Regions from separate parts of the Homo sapiens genome. Here region 1 is linked to region 2. The links are contacts of gene promoters, found by promoter capture Hi-C in human tissues and cell types (Jung and others, 2019). All regions are on one chromosome and are shown on one strand. The core of a region is centred on a gene start or on the middle of the fragment in contact, and the rest is flanking DNA. Distances in the headings are between cores, read along the strand shown. Region 1 overlaps SHISA6 (shisa family member 6). Region 2 holds the start of DNAH9 (dynein axonemal heavy chain 9).

Region 1 (4,521 bases), core at 1,921-4,420, 330 kb before region 2:
GTGAAGACACTGAAAACCTAAGCCCAATGGTTCTTAAACTTGGCTGCACATTGGAATCAACTGGGGATCTTTAAAAATTAAGGATGTCTGGGCCCCATCCCCAGAGACTGACTGAATTGATGTGGAAGTGTGGCCTGAGAATGGAGGTGGGTGGGGGCTGGTGGCTAACACTTCCCAGGTGATTCTAATGTGGAGCTAAGTTTGAGAGTCACTGGGCTGTGGGAGTTGCATAGAGGCACCATTGTAACTAATCCTTTTTGTCATTGATCACTGTTGAACCCAACTCTGGTATTATCACCACCTTTGAGTAGTGTATTTTGATTTTTCCAAGGATTCATCCTTTGAAGTCATTCTCCACCAGAACCTTGTTGTGACTCTGAAACTTCAGGTCACTCTGGCATCAAAAGCACCCCTGGTTGTTTATCTTCCCCTCTCTCTGTTCGGGTTTTCTTTGTCTCATTCTCAAGCGAGCTGGTTCCCCACTGCTGAACACAGACTGATTAGGTGGACAGTCTGGATTTGCCCTTAAATACCCTTCACAGGGCAGGAAGATTTGTCATTTCTTCTGGTTTCTGTATACCTCGTCTCTTCTAGTGAGCTGAGAAGGAAAGCTTCCAGTTACATGATTCACTTCTATGTTTCAAGAAATTCTCCTCAAATTTCTCAAATTGGAACTCTTCACTTTGCGCTTAGAGATGGGAATAGTATCCTGGCCCAGAAAGCATTCTCAGTTGTGATGCTTAAATTTAAAAGCAATTTCATCACAAGCCGCAGCTTCTACAGATTATAATGGACACAATGCTTTTCCAAGCAGTTGATATCCTTTGCCACAAAATATTGCAGTTTGAGCAGAAGTTGAACAGAACTTTGCATGAGTGTTCAAAGTGGAAATTTACTGTAATTTTGCCACTCATCAAATCAACAAACCATCAATTGTAGGAGTATGGTAGTAAGTTTTTAGGGGGCTATTAAGGGAGATATCCAGCAACACCAACAGGCATCAGAGCATATGAGTAGCTTTGCTACTCAAGATGGTGTTGGTGGGTCAGCCACATCAGCATCACCTGAGAGCTTGTGGGAAATGCAGAATCCCAGACTCTACCTCTCCTGCTGAATGAGAACCTGTAATTTGGTGAAATCACTTGGCAATTAGAGTTTGAGAAGCACTGGGAAAGCTTGAGCATTGAAGTATGTTCCTCAGTTTGCTTTTTGGCCCTGTCTCTTACTATGTATGTGATCTTGGGCAAGATTCTTTGTCTTTCCAAGTTTCTTTGTCTGCTATTGAAGCCAATCATACCTGTAGGTCAGAGTTGTTTTAATGGTATAATCAGTTAAACCAAGTAAAGCACTTAAGACAGGTCCCCATACATAGCAAACACTGACTGTTAGCCATGACCAGGCTATGAAGGCACATCCACAGCTCATGGAAAATGAATCAAATGAATGAAAGAACCAAAGGCAATGCATTGGTGTCCTTAGACCAGGCAGGGCCCATGGGATTGTGTGTGGGATGAAGGTCCCTGGACTCAAGCCTTCCTGTGGTTGGCTCCTGTCTGAGGCACATCCTCTGGGGATGAAAGGAATTTGTGGAGCTTGGTCAGGGTTTTGGACATTGAAAGCACATGCTTTGTTGGTTTGGGATGTGGGTTGAGAGTCCTGCAGTAATAATGAAAACAATAATAACACAAGTACCATAGATTGAGAACTTACTATGTATTGGGTACTCTGCTAGGCACTTTATGCGTAATAGCGAATGGATCCTGTAATATTTCTTAGATGTGAAAGTTTCTAATCCCACATTAGCAGAAAAATCCTGTCCCCTTCTATAAGAGCCTTTTACCCCAACTCTTCCAGGAAGCAGCTTTCCAACTTTAAAGATTGCCCCATAAGGAACACTTGGTTTGAATGTAGAAAACCAGTGAACCCTGCTTTAATCCCTTACCCCTCAAATCTGGCTGCCTGCAGACCCTTGCTACCCAAAGTGTGGTCCATGGACCAGGAGCAACTGCATTCCATTGGAACTTGTTAGAAATGCAGAATCTTGGGCTCTTCCTCAAACCTACTGAATCTGAAGCTGCATTTTAACAAGATCCTCAGAGGATTTGTACACATGATGAAGTTGAAGAAGACCTCTCTTAGCTCAGTGATTATCAGCCCTTGTCACACATTGGAGTTGTGTGGGGAATTCTGAAAATACCAATGCCTGCCCCCATCCCAAAGATTCTAATTTACTTGGTCTATAGTAGGACCTGGCATTGATATTAAAAAAGAAACAAACAAAAACAAACTTCCACGTGGTTCTCCTGTCCAGAAAACTTTGAGAACTGAGCTCTTAAAGTTTTGAGGGAACTGGAGGAAAGCTGTCAAATAAGGAAAAGATTCTTTGAAGATTTTGAATGTAGGTTCACATCAAGATCTGCAAGATGCAGACTGGCTAGGCAGAGTGAGTGTGGCTGTCGTAACCAGTCCTCTCCTTAATGGGTGGGGCTGAAGGGAGTGGAAGACTCAGGCTTATCTGAGAGAGGGAGGAGGTCAGTATGGAGCTTTGAAAGGAGACCCCTGGGCAAAAGCGGGCACAAGTAGAAATAAAAAGATTGTTTAGGGGACCAAGCGAAGTCATGAAGAGATGCACCGTACCTAGCGTTGCAGTTCCCTGAGTCCAGCACCTTAGAGGCTTGCTGTGGGCTTGCTTTTCGTAGATGGGGAGCAGGAGAGACCCAGCATGTTTGCCTGACCTCACCCCCTCCTAAAGAGCCTGTCCTGGGGCCTCTGGGGAGAGTGGGGTGCCCATTCCTGGCAGTAGCAATGAGATCATGTGCTGAGGTTACAGAATGTTGATGTCCAACTTCACTTTATCAAGAGTGACATCATCTGGAGACAATAAATATTCATGCCCATCTACATACCACTGTGAGTTGTATAAAAGAACAGCCAGTCATCCTGCCTGTTGTCAAAGCCATATCCATTAATGGCAGACAAAGGGAGCCAAGGGTCATGACTCTCTAAGCTTCATGGAGACCCAGAATGGAGGCTGCACAGGTGGCAGAGGAGCACTCTGCCACAGTCCTGCATGCCCTGGTTCCCATCCCCCCACGCCTCTCTGACCTCAACCCCTACTACCTTCTGCTTCCCTCCTAGGCTGCAGACACACTAGTCTTCTCCAGACACACTGTTTCTTCTCATGCTGTTTGTATTCTTGCATTGAGATATTTCCCCCTTTCTGTTTCTGTAGCCCCAAATTTTCTAGCACTAGGTATTTGTTTTGTGGAATCTGTTGCTCAAGCAGCACTGTTTTGGAGAGGCCTTTCCTAACCTTCTCTGTTACCATCTCCGGCTTTACTTTTCTCAGAGCACTTACATCATCTAACATCATACATTTGTCGGTTCATGTGTTTATTATCTGTCACCATCAGAATTTAAGCCCCAGGTACACAAGGGTTTTATCTTCCTATCATTGTGGTATCCTAGGACCAAGAACATCACTTGGAAAATCCTAGTTGCTCAAGAGCTGTTTGTTCAGGGAATGATGAAAGATGACATAGTCCTTTACTTGGATGGGCGTAGGATCCAAGCACAGATGCTGGTTATGCAGCTGCTGCATGCTGAAGAACTCCCTTCAAGACTGCATCCCATGTAGTAGCCCTCTCTGTAAAGTAAGTATGGTGTCCGTCACTTGCATAAACCATAGGCTGGTCACCAGCCAGCTGGTTGAGCCAGAAGGTCCTGGTATCCGGTGCCCAGTTTTTTTTGTTTGTCTGTTTTGTTTTTTTTTTTTAATGGAGTCTTGCCCTGTCGCCCAGGCTGGAGTGCAGTGGCGCGATCTCAGCCCATTGCAACCTCCACCTCCTGGGTTCAAGTGATTCTCCTGCCTCAGCCTCCCAAGTAGCTGGGACTACAGGAGCCCGCCACCAGATCCAGTTAATCTTTGCATTTTTAGTAGAGACGAAGTTTCACCATGTTGGCCAGGATGGTCTTGATCTCTTGACCTCGTGACCCACCCACCGTGGCCTCCCAAAGTGCTGGGATTACAGGCGTGAACCACTGTGCTTGGCCTGCCCAGGCTTCTTACTGAGCCCTGTGGCCCCTCTCCTCCTATCTGGGGCTGACCCAGAACTCCATGGGTCAGCGCAGCCAGGGACTGGGAGCTTCGCTTCCATGGCTGGGCTCAGAGGGACTGTTACCCAGGGTGCCCTTCCAGTTCTTTCCACCCTGCTAAGAAAGCACGGGTGGCTTGGAAGCCCAGGCAACCCAGAGAGTCCCTGTTCCCAGGGACAGGTTTAGGGCTGCCCATGAAGCCAGAAAACCTGGGCTGTGCAGCTGAACTGGGAAACTTCTGGTGAGTCTCAGCTTCTCACAGGAAGTAGGACTTTTCTTTTCTCAGTCATCCCCAAAGAAACAGAACTGTTGTTCTGGAGGAGTCTGAGATGATAGCCTCATAAGGTTTTGGAGCCCTATGGAGATGGTGAGATTAGCTGGCCAGAATTATGCTTGGCCTGTGAGGAAACTGAGGCACACAGGGGT
Region 2 (4,656 bases), core at 824-3,323:
AAATGCAGATAAGGTATCTTTTTGGAGAGAAAATTAAAAACTGGGATTGCTAATATTCAGGAGCCTTCACCTTACACAGAAATCTTTAAGTCATATTCACAGACTCCTTTGTTCCTATTTTTATGTATGTTGGGGCAAGGGGACATAGGAGATTAACGGCATAATAGAGCCACAGTGCGGTGGCAGAAATTTTATTTCAAGGGTTTACTGAAAGTTAATGGTCCTGAAGTCACTCTGTATACGAAACATGAGCATAGTTGACACATTTGAAGTCCCTAAGCACTAAAACAATAACGATGCCTTCCTATGTGCAAAGATAAACAAAAAACGATATGTGTAAGAAGCCCCTGACATTACTATTTTTCCCTGATGCTTCTTCTTGAAATGTCAGTTACCAAATTCATCCTAAAGATTGTTTTAGTTTCCCACTTTTTCCCTTTCCTCATAGTTGGTTGATTATTGTTTAATCCAGCAATGATGAAACACCCTTTACAAACATAAAGATTCATTTCTAACATGAACATTTTTTATTACAGCAACTCCTTTGCTCCAGTTATTATGAAATCAATCATTTTACTTCCCAACCACTGGTGTTTTCCCGAGGGGCTCTTGTTAGCCAAGCTACCATTGATAAGTGCTTATTCTGTTAATATTCCTTTGAAACCCATTATAAACATTCCTTTTACCCAGAAACTCAGCAGTCCCTGGGAGGTGACTAAAGGGAGGATGGCAGGGCAGAGGGGAGCTCATTCAGTCCTGCAGACCTCATGCTGCCCAAGTTGTTTGTCCATTTTTTCAGCACCCATGCACTGTCACCTTACATGCATGCAAAGGGCCAAGCTGTTTATCCTGACCATGGAGAAGGACTAAGCAGGTAACAAATGCTAATTTCTGAGGTCAGGCAAGGCACTTTATATTATCCCTTTTTGAAGCCAATATCCAGGTATAGGGCAGGATGGGAAGGTTCTGAGCATCCTGCATATTTACAAGTACTTTGCTACATTTAGTAAGAACTGATTAGTGGTCATACCCATGGAAGTCAAAAACTCTAGCATGGTGGCTCATCCTTATAATCCCAGCACTTTGGGAGGCTGAGGCAGAAGGATCAGTTGAGTCCAGGACTTCAAGACCAGTTTGGACAACACAGCGAGACCTCATCTCTACAAAAAATTTTTAAAATTAGCTGGATGTGGTGGCGCCTGTATTCCCAGCTCCTAGGGAATCTGAGACCAGAGGATCAGTTGAGCCCAGGGATTTGAGGCTGCGGTGAACTATGATCCGGCCACTGCACTCCAGTCTGGGCAACAGAGTAAGACTCTGTCTCAAAAACAAGCCTCTTACAGTTTGGTTACATTTTTAGAAGATTAAGCACATGCCTTAAAAAACATGGGCAAAGAAAGGCACGGAAGAAAACTTAAAAAAACTTGATATTAAAATTTTGAAGCTGAGCTGTTCGATATAACTACAGTCACATGTGACTATTTAATTTTAAGTGAAAATTAAGTAAAATTAAAAATTTCCTCAGTGGGACGAGCATATTTCACCTCCTTTATAGGCCATGCGTGGCTAGAACAGATGGAAAACATTTCCATCATCGCAGAAAGTTCTACTGGACAGCACTGTTCTGAAGTGTTTAATTTGCCATCATGGAAAAGAAATAAAATTCACTGAATGTCCTTAAATCTGTTTTATGATTTGGCATTGTGTTTAAGTCTGGATTGCACATTTAGGATAGAGGTAAGAGGACCACACTATTTTCAGTGTCTGGAGACCTCTAAAGACTCTAATTCGACCTTGGCCAAAACGATCCTTAACAGCATTTATATGCTTGATCTCCTCTCCACGCAGCCCATCAATAAGCCATTGCGCTCCACGGTCACACTTCAGCACTCCCAATACACCAGGCAGACACTGAGTACGAGTCTCGGCTGGTGTCCTAGCAACAGCGACGCGACCCCGCCCCTTCCCGCGTACACCTCCTACCTTATTAGCCTGGAAGGGGCGGGACCAGGGGTCCGTGCCCAATAGGAAGGGAGCAGAGGAGTGAGTCCTGGCCGCGTCCCCGTCGCTAGGGAAACCGATGCAGCTGGAGGCCGCGCGCGATGCGGCTCGCGGAGGAGCGGGCCGCGCTCGCGGCGGAGAACGCGGATGGGGAACCCGGCGCCGACCGACGACTGCGACTCCTGGGGACCTACGTGGCCATGAGCCTGCGGCCGGCTGCGGGCGCCTGGGAGCGTTGCGCGGGGAGTGCTGAGGCGGAGCAGCTGCTCCAGGCCTTCCTGGGCCGCGATGCTGCCGAGGGGCCGCGGCCGCTGCTGGTGGTGCGGCCCGGGCCCAGGGGCCTGGCAATACGCCCCGGGCTGGAGGTGGGACCTGAGTCGGGCCTGGCTGGCGCTAAGGCGCTTTTTTTCCTTCGCACCGGGCCCGAGCCTCCAGGGCCCGACAGCTTCCGCGGCGCAGTGGTCTGCGGGGACCTGCCCGCGGCACCTCTGGAGCACCTAGCCGCGCTGTTCTCGGAGGTGAGGGTGGGTTAGTGTCCCCGCGCGGCTAAAGCTGGGTGGGGGAGGGGAGGAGGAGCCTTAAGGGACGGAGGCGGGGCCAGAGGGGGCGGGGCGAAGCTGCAGGGGAGGTCCAAGAGGCGGAGTGATAGGCAGAGGGGCGAGGCTGTGGAGGGAGCACAACCAGGAGGGAAGTTCCTGAAGTCAGGAAGAAAATGGGATGGGGTTAGGGGCGGAGTCGGGTGGGTCCGGAGGGAGGGATCTGGGTGGAGGCCAGGCCAGAATGAGAATGGGAAGGAGCTGAGGCTTGGGTCAGTCCGGGTCTGGGTTCCAGCCAAAGTCAGGGGAAGACCATAATCTGAAGAGTGCCTAGGTTCTGACTACTTTCAAAATCAGCCTCTCGTAATCCCTCCTGTAAATTGGAAAGATCTGAAGAAGATGGGAAGTGGACAAGACGGCATTTCTGATGGATCAGTGGGGTGGAAGGAGGTGGATGGCTATAAACAGTGCCTACTTCTGGAGAGCAGTTAAATGGGAGGGGGAGGTGGGTAGTGATTTGCTTTTGATTTTCATCTCATTCATTCATTACCAACCATTTAGCAAAGGTCAGCCCTGTGCCAGCATAAGAAGTTGGGCTCCCATTTGGAAATGCCCAGCAGGCCTTTGGAGGAGTCTGCCTGAAGCTCAGGGAGGAAGGTGGAGATGTGGGTCATGAGTGCTTTAGTGGCACCACAGCAGAAGCTTCGAGAATGCAGGAGATTTCAGGGAAGTGCTCCAGAGAGATTCCTGGGCCCCTTAGACCTTTCTGGAATGGGAGTAAACTGCCCTGCAAGTCAGGCTGTGTGCTTATGGAGGCTTGATGCCCTGGACCCTGCAGGTTGTGAAATAAGGATGGGCAGAATACTGGCTGTATGATGGTTCAGGTGATAGGTGCTATAGGGAATACCAAAGAACTATTCCCACCCATGAAATGCTTACTCCAAGGAGCTGAAACGTATGTAATAATTCATATATTCAAAATGTTTCAAACTTTTAAGACTGGGGTGAGGGTAAAGCTTACCTAAAAGTTGGCCCCACTGCTGGATGCAAGTCCTGGAGTCTCCCTGCTATGTCAAGTGTAAGCCCTTTAGATGGTGTATCAGGAGGCTGTGGGGAGGTGAAAATTCCAGGGAAAGGGTTGGATAGATAGAGGAGGACACAGAGGGCCCAGGAAGCTAGATCTCTTAGATATGGAGGTATTTCAATATTTTAACAAACAGAATGGTCTTGCAACTGTGCATTGTCTGAAAGCCATCCCGCTGAAGCCTGAACTTAGATCAGCTTCTCTAATGAATGTTGACGATAGAAAGTACTTTTGGCTTCAGAGGAGAAAGACAGGCCTGTGATCTGAGAAGCATGCTTAACATAAGTGTTGAATTGTCTCCTGAACAATTAGAAGAATTTGTATAAGTAGAGAGCAAGGTAACTTTCAAGATACTGAGAGCAGACTGATCAAAGGTTCAGAGACAGGATTTAACCTAGTGTATGTGGGAGACAGAAGGCCCATCTCAGAGTTGTGTCATGGCCAAGCAAAGTAGTCCAGCAAGAAAAATAATTTTAAAATAATGAAAATTCTCGAATGTTTAAGAATTTTCATTGGTGCATTGAAAGAGATTGGAGACAAACAATGTTCATCAACAGGGGACTGGGTGACTGAATTATGGGCCATCTATACAGTGAAATACTTTGCAACTATTAAAAAGAATGACTGATATGGAATATTCCTTTTTTTGAGGCAGGGTCTTGCTATGTTGACCAGGCTGGTTTCAAACTCCTAGACTCAAGTGATCCTCCTGCCTTGGCCTCCCAAAGTGCTGGGATTACAGGTGTGAGCCACCATGTCCAACCGGAGTTATTCCTTAGGGTAATTTTTTCCTTGTGGCAAAAAAAACACATGACGTAAAATTCACCCAACAATTTCCAAGTGTAGAGTACAATATTGTCAACCACATATGCATTATTGTGCAACACATCCTCAGAACTGCCCCGTCCAGCATCACTGAAACTCCACACACACCCAGCAAGCCACACATCGCTCCCCTGAGCTCCTGGCTAGCACCATTCTACTTTCTGTTCCTATGAACCTGACTCATCATATAAGTGGAATCATGCAGTATTT

The links. Contacts are between HindIII fragments. The study calls those that stand out against the background at their distance.
Region 1: a fragment that was not itself captured here is called in contact with the fragment with the promoter of DNAH9 in region 2 in 1 of the 25 tissues and cell types used here (dorsolateral prefrontal cortex).

The regions. Positions count from the first base shown.
Region 1 is chr17:11,265,287-11,269,807 of GRCh38, forward strand. The region is part of intron 2 of SHISA6 (shisa family member 6); the gene reads left to right. Among named protein-coding and RNA genes, the nearest start is that of SHISA6, 26 kb to the left of the region's middle. The HindIII fragment of the contact is 4,555 bases long and covers 894-4,521 here.
Region 2 is chr17:11,596,397-11,601,052 of GRCh38, forward strand. DNAH9 (dynein axonemal heavy chain 9) reads left to right here and starts at 2,074. Exons shown (of 69, transcript NM_001372.4): 1 at 2,074-2,519. The coding sequence starts at 2,103. The HindIII fragment of the contact is 9,113 bases long and covers 1-3,396 here.